5 separate regions of the Homo sapiens genome follow, and regions 1, 2, 4 and 5 are each linked to region 3. The links are contacts of gene promoters, found by promoter capture Hi-C in blood cells and fetal thymus (Javierre and others, 2016). All regions are on one chromosome and are shown on one strand. Each heading gives the region's core, a stretch centred on a gene start or on the middle of the fragment in contact. The rest is flanking DNA. Distances are from core to core; before and after follow the strand shown. Region 1 has its middle 24 kb from the start of LINC00899. Region 2 has its middle 11 kb from the start of WNT7B. Region 3 holds the start of TRMU (tRNA mitochondrial 2-thiouridylase). Region 4 has its middle 27 kb from the start of WNT7B. Region 5 overlaps LOC124905135 (collagen alpha-1(III) chain-like).

What was found. The method cuts DNA at HindIII sites, captures the fragments that hold promoters and counts their contacts. A CHiCAGO score of 5 or more calls a contact.
Region 1: a contact is called between a fragment that was not itself captured here and the fragment with the promoter of TRMU in region 3, in 4 of 17 cell types (neutrophils, activated CD4 T cells, erythroblasts and 1 more). The highest score is 6.9, in neutrophils.
Region 2: a fragment that was not itself captured here is called in contact with the fragment with the promoter of TRMU in region 3 in 8 of 17 cell types (neutrophils, naive CD4 T cells, monocytes and 5 more); the score reaches 11.0 in neutrophils.
Region 4: a contact is called between a fragment that was not itself captured here and the fragment with the promoter of TRMU in region 3, in 16 of 17 cell types (neutrophils, megakaryocytes, erythroblasts and 13 more). The highest score is 12.7, in neutrophils.
Region 5: a fragment that was not itself captured here is called in contact with the fragment with the promoter of TRMU in region 3 in 4 of 17 cell types (megakaryocytes, neutrophils, naive B cells and 1 more); the score reaches 5.8 in megakaryocytes.

What each region holds. Positions count from the first base shown.
Region 1 is chr22:46,019,270-46,021,969 of GRCh38, reverse strand. No RefSeq gene overlaps it. Among named protein-coding and RNA genes, the nearest start is that of LINC00899, 24 kb to the left of the region's middle. The HindIII fragment of the contact is 2,954 bases long and covers 1-2,700 here.
Region 2 is chr22:45,986,697-45,989,480 of GRCh38, reverse strand. No RefSeq gene overlaps it. Among named protein-coding and RNA genes, the nearest start is that of WNT7B, 11 kb to the right of the region's middle. RefSeq lists enhancers at 1,620-2,120, 2,121-2,621. The HindIII fragment of the contact is 8,373 bases long and covers 1-2,784 here.
Region 3 is chr22:46,334,436-46,337,135 of GRCh38, reverse strand. It overlaps TRMU (tRNA mitochondrial 2-thiouridylase), which reads right to left and starts at 1,422. Exons shown (of 11, transcript NM_018006.5): 1 at 1,290-1,422. The coding sequence starts at 1,371. RefSeq lists a silencer at 975-1,024 and enhancers at 833-1,332, 1,165-1,384. The HindIII fragment of the contact is 6,278 bases long and covers 36-2,700 here.
Region 4 is chr22:46,003,016-46,005,715 of GRCh38, reverse strand. No RefSeq gene overlaps it. Among named protein-coding and RNA genes, the nearest start is that of WNT7B, 27 kb to the right of the region's middle. The HindIII fragment of the contact is 8,534 bases long and covers 1-2,700 here.
Region 5 is chr22:46,060,422-46,063,121 of GRCh38, reverse strand. All of the region lies in intron 1 of LOC124905135 (collagen alpha-1(III) chain-like), which reads right to left. Among named protein-coding and RNA genes, the nearest start is that of PRR34, 7.5 kb to the right of the region's middle. The HindIII fragment of the contact is 1,600 bases long and covers 528-2,127 here.

The DNA of each region.
Region 1 (2,700 bases), core at 29-2,528, 320 kb after region 3:
ACTTGCCACCAGTCAAGGTGGTTCTGTAGACATTAACTTCCAGCATTCCCATGTTGCACGAGTGTGACTGCAGAGGGCTCCACCAGGACCACTAAGTCGCATATTCAGAGAAGCACCTGGACAGGAAGCAAGAGATCTCCAGCATGGGCCCAAGGCAAGGCACTGTCTGGCTGCTGGCACCCACATGAAGCTGGATGAAGCCACTGTAAGACCGGCTGTGGTGGGAATGGCTGGAGTTGGGGTTGAGAGGACCTTGAAGTGGAGCACAAGAGGGGCCTGGTGTAGTCCACCCCTTGCCTCCCTCACATGTGCATGTGAGTCTTTGATGATGTCTAGTCTGCCACAGAGTTCCCTTCAAGGTGGCAGCCAGCAGCAAGATCTGTAAGTTCTTAAAACACGATTATTAGTGGAACAAGCTATAGTCTCCACTGCTGCAGCTGGTCTGAGGTCGTGATCGATAACCTCATCTCAATCCTCCACCACAATTCCAGATGAGCACTTCCATGGGCCTAGGCTGTGTGGCAGTGGCAGGGCCCTCGCCTTCCTCTTTGGAGGGTCTGAGCCCTCATCTGCATTTGCTTTTGCTGGCTGTGGTTGCTGCCATTGCCAGGTCCCCGCTATGACCACCTTGGAAGTGCCAAGAGGCGCTGCAGTGAATTATCTGGTTCTGAGACTGATTCCTCCTTGCCCCGAAGCCGAGCTTCTCTTGAGGTCAGGGTCAATGACTCTGCCAGGATGGTGACTCCTTTCTTTCACTGTTGGTCCACTGGCATGAAGAAGCCAACATGATCAAGAGGTCATTGAGGCCTCAAGATCAGTTGACTCTAGTTTATTGCTTGGTGGAAGAATCCCCCTGTGGGAACCGGAACCTTGAACTTAACAAAGTCAAAGGATGTGAGACTGGTGAGAGAAGTCAGTCTCACCTCCTGGACTTAAGCCTTTCCCTTGGTTCCTGGACCTTTGTATTCTTAGTATGGGGGACACAGTACCGCATGACAGGGTTGATCTCCCACCCTTTGGCATTGAAGAGTACTTGCCACTCACTCTTCACCAGATTTTGAAGGAATGAGCAATAGGTATCTGAACAGAATGTAAGTTCCACAAAAACAGAATTCTTGTCTGCATTGTTCGCTGCTGTACCCGCAGCACCTAAACAGTGTTGGGATCAATATAAGGACTCAATAAATATTAGCTAAATAAATAATTTCTAGTGGGATTTAATATCAGATAGTCAAATTATAAAGCAAACATTTTCAAAAACTTATGGGGCTGTCACTGGAATAAGTAGATCAACAGACAGAATAGAAAATGTAGAAAGAGGTAAAGGTATGGGATATGTTTTAGAGATGGGATCTTGCTATATTGCCAAGGCTGGTCTTGAATTTCTGGGCTCAAGTGATCCTCCCACCTTGGCTTCCTAAGTGGTTGGGACTACAGGCATGTGCCACTGTGCCCAGCTTGTTTGGGTACACATTTTTTTTTTTTTAAATAAGGGATGGATGGAGCAACAGGCAACCATTGAGAAAGATGAAATGAAATTAGATCCATGTCTCTCTTCTTGTACCAAAATAAATTTGAGATGGGTTAAGAATCTTAAGGTAACAAAAAAATAAATAAATAAAAAAAGAACCTTAAGGCAAAAAAAAAAATGAAACCATAAATACACGAGGATAAAGTATACATAAATATTTACCTAATTTTGAGGTTGAGAAATATCTTCCTAAGCAGTGAGACTCACATCAGGGCCACAAAGAAAAGAATGGAGAATATATATACGGTTTTGTTTCCATGTGTGGGAGGAAACAGTATAAGCAGAGTGAAAAGGCAAACAACAAACCGGGAAAAACTATGTGCTGGACAAAATCCTTCTAACATAAGTGTATTAGTCCGTTTTCACACTGCTATAAAGACATACCCAAAACTATGTAATTTATTTTATTTATCTATTTATTTATTTGAGATGGAGTCTCACTTTTTGCCCAGGCAGGAGTGCAGTGATGCGATCTCGACTCACTGCAAACTCTGCCTCCCAGGTTCAAGCGATTCTCCTGCCTCAGTCTCCTGAATAGCTGGGATTACAGGCACGTGCCACCATGCCCAGCTAATTTTTGCACTTTTTAGTAGAGATGGGGTTTCACCATGTTGGCCAGGCTGGTCTCAAACTCCTGAACTCAAGTGATCCACCCACCTCGGCCTCCCAAAGTGCTGGGATTATAGGCGTGAGCCACTGTGCCTGCCCAAGACTAGGTAATTTATAAAGGAAAGAGGTTTAATTGACTCAAGTTCCACATGGCTGGGGAGGCCTCAGGAAACTTACAGTCATGACGGAAGGCAAAGGGGAAGCAGGCACCTCCTTCACAAGGCAGCAGGAGAGAGAAGTGCAGAGCGAAGGGAAAAGAGCCTTTTATAAAACCATCAGATCTCGCGAGAACTCACTCAGTATCATGAGAACAGCACGGGGGAACCACCCCCATGATCCAATCACCTCCCACGAGATTCCTCCCCCACCACATGGGTATTACAGTTTGGATTACAATTCAAGATGAGATTTGGGTGGGGACACAGAACCAGATCATATCAGTAACATACAAAAGTCTCTTTGTAAGTAAATAAGATAAAATATTTGCAAAGGATATGGGAAGGAAATTTACAGAAGAGAAACTTCAAATTGCCAATATAACTATGAAAAATGTTCCATTT
Region 2 (2,784 bases), core at 186-2,685, 350 kb after region 3:
CACGAAACAGGATGAATAGAATCTGGGTCCTCCACACCAAAAAGTCCAACGCTCATATCTTAGACCAGTGGTTCTCAACTGGAGCCAATTCTGCTCCCCGGGAGACATTTGGCAATGTCTGGGGATACGTTTTGTTGTCATACCTCAGGGGATGCTGTGTGCTAAAAGCGTCTAGTGGGCAGAGGCCAGAGACGCTGCTGAACATCCTACCGGGCACAGACGGTCCCCACCACAGGGAACGATCCTGCCCTGAATGCCCATGGTGCAGCCACAAGAAGCCCCAGCGGAGACAGGCAGCTGAGTGCTCGGTGTCGGGCCCTTGCCTAGAAGGATGAGGTCCAAATGGTGGCCTGGCTTTCGGTGGCCTTTGTGGCCTAACCCAGCCTCAGCCCTGGGTGCTGGGCACTCTGGCATCATGTGCTAGGTTAGTCCCACTGGGTCGTGGCACTTTTAGAGGGTGGGCTTTATGCAGGGAACTCTGGAAGGCTCAGATTCAGCCTTGGGCATCCATCTTCTCCCCATGGGGGACTCAAGCAGGAAATCAAAGGACTCTTCATTCTGTGGTGGGAGGCACTGGAAAGGGCCTTCCCTCCTCCTCCCTCAAAGCTCAAACCTGGATCTTCCACCAGCAGTCATCAGTGCAGGGTGGAGGTCAAAGTGACCCTCATGGAAGGAGGAGGTAAAGGACTGCCCAGGGCACATTGCTTTTGCCCACCAGCAAACCCAGCTTAGCCAGGGTCCTGGAGCTGCCCCATCAGGGCGGTGCTGGTCGGTTGCCACAGGCGAGGAGTGATTGTATGTTGGGGTCAGGGAGGGCCAGGAGCATCCCTCTCCAGACTCAGGTCCTTGGCTCTCCTACCGAGGAAGGGGTTCATGGACAAGCGCAGACCAGGCCTCACCTGGACTCCAGATCCTCATCTGCAGAGATGGGGGCTCGCCCCTGCCTCAGCCTCACTCAGCACACCTGGCCCTCATCACCTCCTCTCTCGGCTGACTGCCAGGCTCAGGCAGCCTGGAGTTTTGGTCAAGGTGCAGCTGGATGTGCTGGGCAGCCTGACCTCAGCTCTCCTGGTCCTGGAGAGGACTTTTGTTAGAGACACAGAGCATTTGTTTTAACATAGAAGATGTGATGTGAGTTTGTCTATGAGGCAGTCCCGAGCCTCCCTGTCAAATGCCTCACCTCCTGGGTTCATGACCCTCACAGAGGTCAGAAGTCACAGGGAGCCTACACATTTCATTCCCAGTGAACCCATGCTAGCTCCTGGTGTTACAGGATCTTTTGGGTGTCGTCTTTTTAGCTGGAAACCTCTGTGACCAGTGGCGTCTTTGCCTGAGTTTTTGTCCTGCATCCAGGAAGAATGAGGTATGCAGACAAGTAGAGGGTAAGCAAGACAAAGAGGAGCTTTATTGAGTATTAGAACAGCTCAGAGGAGACCTGCAGTGGGTAGCTCCTCTTTCTAGGCAGGTTGTCCCATCGAGTGTTCAGCTCTCCGCAGAGAGGAAGCCCCAGAGAGGGTAGTGCCTCTCTGCAGGCAGGTTATTCTGACATCTCCTCAGGTCTCTGAAGCTCTCAGCAGAGAGGGTAGCTCCTCTCAGCAGCTGATCAACTTGTAATCTGCTCAGCTCTGGCTGAGCCCAGGGTTTTTATGGGCCTCAGAGGGGAGAAAGTGCATGCAGATTGGTCCATGGGTAGCCATGGGCAGGCCCAGAAAAGGCACCACAAATTCCCATTCAGGTTGGTGGGACTGGAAGCCCAGCCTCCAGCCTTCAGGCCCTCCCTGGCCCTAAAGGTGGAGCCTCACGGGGGACCCGTCCCCTTCCTCCCAGGAATGTGCCTGCCTCCTGCTGCCATTCATGGCACCAGGGCTTGGCCCTGACTTTGCTTTGAGATCAAAGCAGGCACTGACGGCAGGGAAAAGCCAGGCAGTGGGAACAGGCACTTCCAAGCCTGCAAGGGCAGTGGGGGCCTTCCCAGGTCCCTGAGTGCAGAAATTCCTGAGTCTGCAGCTACAGTTTTGGTGGCTGCAGCTGTGCCTGGGAGGGTAGGGCTCTTGCCTGCTCCTGTCCCAAGAGCACAGGGATGCTCAGATCTGCAGCCACAATTTGGGCGGCTGCAGCCCCACCTAGGAGGGTGGGGCTCCGGCCTGCTCCATGGAGTATGCGGCCCTGGCCATGCCTCCCTGCTGCAGTCTGTGTGATGGCAGTGGGAGGCCATCTTGGAGCAGCCACTGCCGTCACTGGTGCTCACCCCCTCCTTCTGCTCCCTGGGCTCTTGGATATCCCTTAGCTTCTGCCCTGAATTGGGTCAAGCTCCTGGATTTGCCTTTGGGGGCTCCTCATTCTCCCTCCAGAAATGCCAGAGCTCTGTCTGCCCTTCTCTGGATGAGGGGTCCTGGTGGGCACACACAGGCTCCTGCTGGAAATCATCTGACGCCCGCAGCCTCCTCCCCAGGTGGCCCCTGCTCCCCATCCCCAGTGGGGACTCTGTCCCTCCTGGGAGGGACTGCTTCTCCCCTAGGAGCCCTCCACCTCCCTTGGCAAGGGCTGGGAACCCCCTAGGGGCTCAGGGTGTACACTGAGAGGACTTGGGGTGTGGACCTTCCCACGGAACTTTCTGCAGTTTACACGTTTGCCAGAACTATCATTTGCCAATTGTGCTTGATCTCTGGAGCCACCTGGGTGTTGATTAAACATTCAGATTCCTAGCCCCTTCCCTGAGATATTTCGGAGAAGTGGGCCTGTGGTAATGCTAAAAATTGGCTGGTCAGGCAAGCTGGGGACACT
Region 3 (2,700 bases), core at 173-2,672:
AGTACCCAAAACAACAGAAATTTGATGACAAAGCTTTGTCAAAACTACACCACCACACGCGAAAGACCACCCCTATCCCAGATCAACCAGACTAATGTCTACCTAACAGTCTAAAGCCCCTGGTATAGCATCTTCCATAATCAGGGCTAAACGTGCTCCAGGCTCCTCTCCTTCCATCTCCATCTGGCCAGAACCAGCCCACACTTGCAGGCCTCTGTGATTCTGCTTGCACTGCTGACTGTGCCGGGAGGGCCGCCTCCACCTCCAAGTCTCTGCTTAGTGACATCCTACTCTTCTTTCGACTCAGCTGAGCACCTCCATCTCTAGGATGCTTTCCTCCACTCTCCCTTCCTCACAACTATTTCTGCTTATGGTCCGCCTACCCTTCTCTTTGGCACTTACTGTACCTACCATAATAGCTATGGTTATTAACAATATAAACTAATAGCCACTACTGTTTTCTGCGTACCTCGTATGTGCTGAGCACGTACTCATCAGTATGTACTATGTCATCTAATCCCTCCAGTCACCCCGTGAGGCAGGTGTTAGCCGAATTTTACAGGGGACGGCTTAATTCACTTGCCCAAGGTCAGGAGCCAAAGATGGCGCAAAGCAGAGCTCCACAAACGTGACTCTGTGAATGAGGCCTCCCGCGGGGAGCCACACAGGTGAAGTTAAACAAGTGCTCATTTCAGCGCCGGGCCCGAGGAATGCTAAGCACCCGTGGGGCTCCGTTTAGATGCCGGAAGAAATGCAAATGCTCCTGGAGAAAACTTTGTCCTCCAGCGAGCGGAGAACACAGGAGACGCTGAACAAGCAGACCCGCCGCGCGGCAGTTGTCCAGTCTGCTGAGTGGGGAGGACAAGGACCTCCCACCGGGCGGCCACAGCGTGTGCAGAGGTCAGGCCCCCGGCCCGGCGATCCCAGCTCCCCTCACCAGTGTCCACGGTCTCACAGGTGAATGTGGACGCCGCAGATCCGTGAGAAACCCTTCCCTCCCCACCCCACCCCGGCCCGCCGGCTTCTCACTGTGGGTGGGCGCGCGTGGGTGGAGAGGGGCGCGGAACTGCTCCCAGGTAGTCGGAGCTGCAGTCGCGCACACCTCCGACTACACAGGTGGAGGGCGAGGAGCCTCCGAACCAAAGTCAGAGGACGGGGTATCCTCCTGCCGACCCGCGCGCAACCAGCGGCCCAGGGAGGGAGGAGACGTGCACAACGCCACGACGGACGGGGACAGGTTTCCGGGGACACATTCGCTCGGCGGGGGGCGGGAGCCTCGGACGCCTCACCTCTCCGCCTCAGCAGCAGCGCGGCCACGGCGCTGTCCACGCCGCCGGACAGGGCGCACACGACGTGCCGCAAGGCCTGCATCCGCCAGTCGCCCAACTTCGCCAGCTGCAGCTACCGCCGCTTCCGCGCCTTGCCGGAAGTCCCGCCCCGGCCGTAGGGTCCGCGCTAGTGGCCCGGCCGGAAGCTGCGGCAGCTTACCCGCGTTCCGTCCGGCCTTCCCCTGTCCCGCGGCGGGTTCCCCTGTCTCCGGCCTGCGCTCACCCCTGAGGCTCCACCGACCCGCGGGGCGCCGAGACTCTGTCGGGCCGCGAGGGGCTGGCTTTTTTTTTGAGCCGCCGCCTTGCCCTCCCCACCCGCGCCCCGGCCTCACTGCTCTTCTTCTGCGCTGTAAACCAAAAATAAAATTCTAAGCCCCCCAGCCAGCCATTGGAGGCCTCCTCTCGGCCAAGGGCGTCCTAGAGGGAACCTGAACCGCGAGTTCGGGCTCTGATGGGAAAGGCCGGGTGGGACCCGCCTCACTAGACCCTCCTCCTCCCTTTGGAATTCGGACCAGCATTAACGTCAAAACAGACTTAAGACTGTCTAGGCGGACTCTCCGTAGCAATAGGATACCGACATGACAGATGGCAGGCCCTGAAAGATATCGAAGTATTTTACAGTATTTTAATTTAATTTAATTTTTAATTAATTAAATTTTTTTGAGATGGAGTTTTGCTCTGTCGCAGGCTGGAGTGTAGTGGGCGCGACCTCGGCTCACTGCAACCTTCACCTCCAAGATTCAAGCGATTCTCCTGCCTCAGCCTCCCTAGTAGCTGCGATTACAGGCGCCCGCCACCAAGCCCAGCTAATTTTTGTATTTTTAGTAGAGACGGGGTTTCACCGTATTTGCCAGGCTGGTCTCTCACTCCTGACCTCAAGGGATCCGCCCACCTCAGCCTCCCAAAGTGGCGGGATTACAGGTGTGAGTCACTGCCCCCGGCCCAGAAAATCTTTGAATCCACCTATGACCTGGAAGCCCCACCCCACCTTCGAGTTGTCCCACCTTTCCGGAACCAATGTTACATCTTACATGTATTGATTTATGGCTTATGTCTCCCTAAAACGTACGAAACCAAAAGCTGTAGCACCACCAGTTTGAGCACGTGTTCTCAGGATCTCCTGGGACTATGACATGAATAAATATCTTCAAATCTTTTACAGTTTGACTCCAAGCATACTCAGCACTCAATCCTTAATGTCTGTGAGGTGTGTTGGACAGGGGTTTTGTGTTCTGTCCACTCCTACTCCATGCCCAGAAAAGCCCCTGGCCCAGGGCAGGTGCTTCATAACCTCGCTGAATAAAGGAAGGAGGAGAGAATGGAGGTCATCCCCCAGGGGTGATATTCAAGCTGAGTTCTTCTCTACGAGTTA
Region 4 (2,700 bases), core at 161-2,660, 330 kb after region 3:
GCCAGTTTGGGATGCCCCTACAGGGCCCTAGGTGCAGGGGACAGGGCTGAGGGAGCGGGGGAGGCGCCAAGATGTCAAGGCCGGCAGCCGTTCTCCTGGGGCAGAGGGCCAGTGCCCATGCCCGCACCTTGGGTCCCCAGGGCAGCCAGGTGGAGCCATACCACCTCCTCGGGCTTCACCTGCAAGCCCAGGCCCTGTGCTCACTGAGCCCCCACGCCCGCCAGGCCACTTCCAGAGGCTGTGCACACCCTCTGCCCAGATCCAGGAGAGGGGCTTTCACACAAGGAGGGAGAGGCTCAGAACCCTGGCAACCTACCCAAGGCATGGCACATGGGGCTACACGGGTGGATTGGAAGCTGGGTTGGCCACCTGAACCCCTGGGGTCCTGGCATTTCCAATGTCACCATCAGAAGGGTGGATGGAGGCCGGGCGTGGTGGCTCATGCCTGTAATCCCAGCATTTTGGGAGGCCGAGGCAGGCGGATCACCTGAGGTCAGGAGTTCGAGGCCAGCCTGGCCAACATGGTGAAACCCCGTCTCTCCTAAAAACACAAAAATTAGCCAAGCATGGTGGCAGGTGCCTGTAGTCTCAGCTACTTGGGAGAATGAGGCAGAAGAATCGCTTGAACTCGGGAGGCGGAGGTTGCAGTGAGCTGAGATCACACCACTGCACTCCAACCTGTGCGACAGGGCAAGACTCTGTCTCAAAAAAAAAAAAAAAAAGAAAAAAGTAAAAGAAAAAAGAATGGAGGACGGAAGGGCCACACCATGCAGGTGCTGGGGTCCTGGCGTTTCATTTTCAATGTCACCATCAGAATGGAGGATGGGAGGCCGCCCCGCGAATGGAGGGCGGGAGAGCCATGCCATGCAGGTGCTGCCTGCTTGGGTTCCTGTGCTGGGACTGCCTCTCTCATCTATCACCTTGCACCTCCATCGCTGTGACACCCTTCACCCGCCGGGCCCCCACAAAACATGCTTGGGCTCTGCAGCCAGACTCCATCCTCCCCCACCAACCGTCCGACTCCTAGAGCCCTCTCCTGGACCCCCAGCACAGCGCGTGCGTGACGGAACCCTGCAGAGCCACTTCCTGTTAGAATCAGAAGGGCTGTCAGCCACTAAACCCAAGTGCCAACTTTTGGTGACGGAGAAATAGATCCAGATAGAGGGAGGACTTGATCAGGCCCAGGGTGGCCAGAGACCCTTTGGACTGCGACCAGAATCCCAGGGGCCTGTCACCGGCCCAGCGTCTGAGGTCCTGAATCCCTGGAAATCAATAAAGGCAGGCAGGTGGGAGGCTGGAGGCCTCGCAGCCCACCCAACCCACATCCACCACACTCTCACACCAAGCCCTCAGCGTGCTCGGAGCATGGCGGTGGGCTTTACCCCTCCAGCCCCTCTACCTGGGATGCCACACAACTCTTCAGGGCCAGGGGAGTCCCCTCCTAGGGCCACCGTCCCCAAGGCACCCAGGGATGAGTCACTCTCTCTCACCCCAGGCCACCCAGGAGAGTTGACATCAGTCACATGTCTGCCCCTCAGACTGGGAGAACCCTGGAGCAGGGACCCCATCCCCTGCCTCTGTGAATCCCTAGCATTGGCCCATGGTGTGAACACCAGCAGCCACAGCACTGAGACCTAGCCAGGGCTTCCCAGTTTCCTGGGCACCAGCTGTTCTTCGCAGCCTCTTCCATGCTTGCTGGGAAGCAAGGTCTATCATGACCCTAGGCGCAGAAGGACAAGAAACAGAGAGGTTGAGTAAGATGCCCGACGACACACAGCTGGAGTCAGCAGAGGCTGGAAGGGTGCTGGGCGGCCTGGCTCCCAGCACGAGGCATCCTACCTGAGGACAGTAGACGGGCAGCTAAAGGACCCTCAGCTGACCACACAGGCCGGGCCTGGGCATGTCTGCGGCATGACCCCCTTGGGCCTTGTCACCTCCTCTCATCCCCTAGATCGCAGGACAGCAAGGTGGTCACACCCAGATTGCCTGAGTGTGCATTCTTTCCTTCCACGTCGGAGCACTTGGTCGGAATCCTGCCCACACAGGATGCACCTCACGAGGTGTTCACTCACCAGTCTCCCAGAGCAGAGGGGTCTGGGGAGAGGGGACACAAGATGGCATTGGGAGTGACAGCAAGACTGACTGTCTTGCGGGGCCCTCAGGCGCTGGCCTCCAAGGCCAGGTCCCCCAGGAAAAGCCTAGACAGAGGGGAGCAGGAAACCCGGTCCCAGCCCAGGGCGCCCACTCCCTGCCGGCCAGGCCAAGCCTCCCGCGTCCGGCCTCCTGGGTGCTGCTCACTCATCCATCAGACCAGTGTGATGGGGTCATTCGCTCCCATTCCCAGGCGGGGGAGGCTCCAGGAGATGTGGGTGGATGTGGGTTTACCCTGTGGATGGCCTGAGGCCTGAGGACTAGGAAGGTCCATCTATCTGTCCCTTGGCAGATGGCCACAGTGCCCAGGGCGACAACAGGGTGAGCTCTGCTCACATGGGTCCTGATGCAGATAGGGGGTGTCTGGGCCCCTGTCACCCCTGTGGAGTCTTCCTCGCCTTCCTCTGGGCGGGTCTTCTCAGGTCCAGCTCAAGGGCATCTGGGAGGGGAGGTGGCCTGAAAGCTCGGAGGCCCTGCAAAGCTGGCTGCAGTTAGGAAAGCCACTAAGTCATTATTTTGGGGTTAAATCAGAACTAATCTACCCAAGCC
Region 5 (2,700 bases), core at 78-2,577, 270 kb after region 3:
TGGCAGTCATTCTATGAAAGGCAAGAATCACAAGGCATGTCTCCCAAGGGCTTTCCTTCCCAGGTGGAGATCTGCACCGCACACCCAGAAGGTGACGGCCACACCTGCCTACCCCCACTCATGGCCCACGGCAGGACCCCTACCCAGCTCCATCCTCACAACAGCAGGGCATATCCGACAACTCCTGAACACCAAGTCTTCCCAAAGCCAAATTCCACGTTAGAATATTCCACCGTGCAATCAACAAGCTCAAAAACAAACTCAACATAAAAAAAAAAAAGTCTTCCTGGCAAAGCCTAGCAGTATTTACAGCTGGTGAACAAAACTGAAATAAGTGAGAATCAGGTAGAGGGCCTTGCCTGGCGGTGCCAGGAACTGGAAGCCTTTCTGCTCATCTTTGGAGGCAAAGGCTTTCAAGAAGAGTCCTTTCTGTGCTTTCCTTTTTGCACCTAATTACAAAAGAAAGTACCTTTTTAAAAATCAAACAGAACCCTTACGAAAATTACAAGTGCTAAGTCTCAAAAGCTTCTTGGGATAAACATTATAACCTTGTCCAACATTTGAGGAAAAAACGAAGAACAGAAAGACGTGAAATGGTCAAGGCCTGAATTTCGTGTCAACGGATGCATTCATGGCCTCAGCATCCTCCTCTGGCCTAGAACCGTTCCCAGGTGCTGGAAAGGTTGTGATGTGGAGGAAAAAGAGGTTGTCGGGGAGGGAGCCCACGTGCAGAGGGTCTGAAGGGTTCCGGCTTCCCTCACCAGGGGAGTGGGGTTCGCATAGATGGAGCGTCTTTTCTTTCCCGTGTGACAGGCTTCCAAGCAGAAATAAAGAGCAGAAAAAGAAAAACAAGAACTAATACACGTCTCCTCTGCATCACGGCTGTCTGAAATCCTTACGGGGCCTGCACAGGGACCCCGGGAGCAGTGTCTCTGCGGCCTCCCCCAACCCCGCTCCAGGGGACAGGCACCCACGTGGCCGCGGGAGTGCGTGGGGACCTTGCGCGGACCAGGAGCACCCGGCCCCGGGGCGGGAGGTGCGGGCCAGTTTCAGCCGGCCAGCTGCGGACCTGGGGGGACACAGGGCCCAGGCCCGCAGCGGCTCTGAAGGCAGGGAGGCCTCGGTGCGCCTCCTCCAGGCAGCCCCAGGGCGGGCACGCGAGGCAGGGCCGAGTCCGGCACCAGGCCTGAGGCTCGGGGTCCGCGGCGGGCGGGGAGGCCGGTCTGCAGCGGGGCGGGGCGGGTCCCCAGGGTTCGAACCGAGGCCTGGAGTCGGAGCCTGGGCCCGGAGCCGCTGCAGAGGGTCCGGGCCGGGGCCGGGGTCCGCCTGGGCAGGGACGAGGGTTCGAGCCGGGGTCCCAGGCCGGGGTCGGGTCGGAGTTGGCGGGCGGGTCCGGGGCCTGCGTCCGAGGGCGCGTCCCAGGCAGAGTCCAGGGTGCGGTCCGGGCAGAGGCGGCGGCACGCGCCCCAATTAGCCGCAGGCCGGGCGGCGGGGCTGCCCCATTGAGGGCGAACAAAGGGCGCGACCCCGGGGTCAGGAGTCGCGGGCTGCGGCCGCCGCTTTGTTCGGCGCCTGTTTACTTTGCCCAAGCGGAGCTCATAAGATATTGACTAAAGCGGATTAGGGGGTCGCGCCCCGGAGGCCCAGGCGGGCTGCGGGAGGCTCCAGGGCCCGCGGGACCTCCCAGCCGGGCGCGCCTGGCCGAGTCGGCCCCTTCCCCGCCGCCCGAGCGTCCCCAGCCTCGCCTCCGCCCCGCTCTGCCGGGGAAACTGAGGCTCCGGCCGGGCGGGCCCGGGAGAGGGGGCTCTGCGGCCGGCGGGCAGCCCGGGACCGCCCGGAGCCAGCCGGGAAGTGATGGGGTTGCCCGGGGCACTGCATTTTAAAGAATTCTGCCCGTCCCGATACGGCAGGTCCTGGGAATCCATTTTACAGTGAAGCAAGTCGCACTTGCCTGAAGGCTAGGAAATATTAGTTGGAAACACGGACAGATTTTTCCGTATAACAAAATCCTGGCACATTATGGTTAAGAAAGAAACTTCTAGTCTCTTAACGCAAGCGATGCGCTCCTGGCGTGAATAGGCAGGTGACCTAAGAGTGCAGAGAAATATTTTAAGGGCAATACAAGCTTACGAAAATAAATGTTTTCTTTCTTTTTAAAAAAAAGAATAAGACAACTGATGAGTCTAAATAAACCACTAGGATTCCCACTCAAAGACCACAATTAATCTGATACTATGAATCCAGGATCTACGGACTTCTCCAGTAATTAACTTGCAGAATCTTTTAAATTGTCCCTAGAAAACCAAACAGGGGAAGCAGAAAGCCCCAACTGAAAATCAGGCACCATGTCTCACCACCGGAGGGTTGTCACCCAACCAAGGATCCAAGAAGAAGACGGGCCTTTTTCCACCCTTCTTAAGGCTATTGTTTAGGGAACAAAAACACTTCCCGAGTCCACACAAAATCTTAATTGAGATTTTTCTGCCCTGGCGTACAAGTATATGTGTTTGGTTAGAAAACTCACATAGTATTGGATTAATAAGCTACCAACATATAAATCTTTTATTAAAGAAAGAACAATATTGACTTACTATTCCTATTTGTTGGTCTAACGAATACTTCTGCTACGTGTATCATCCATCCCCAATGACTGAAAGAAAGCATGCCATTTGTCTCTATTTGTCTATCTTCCTATAATGA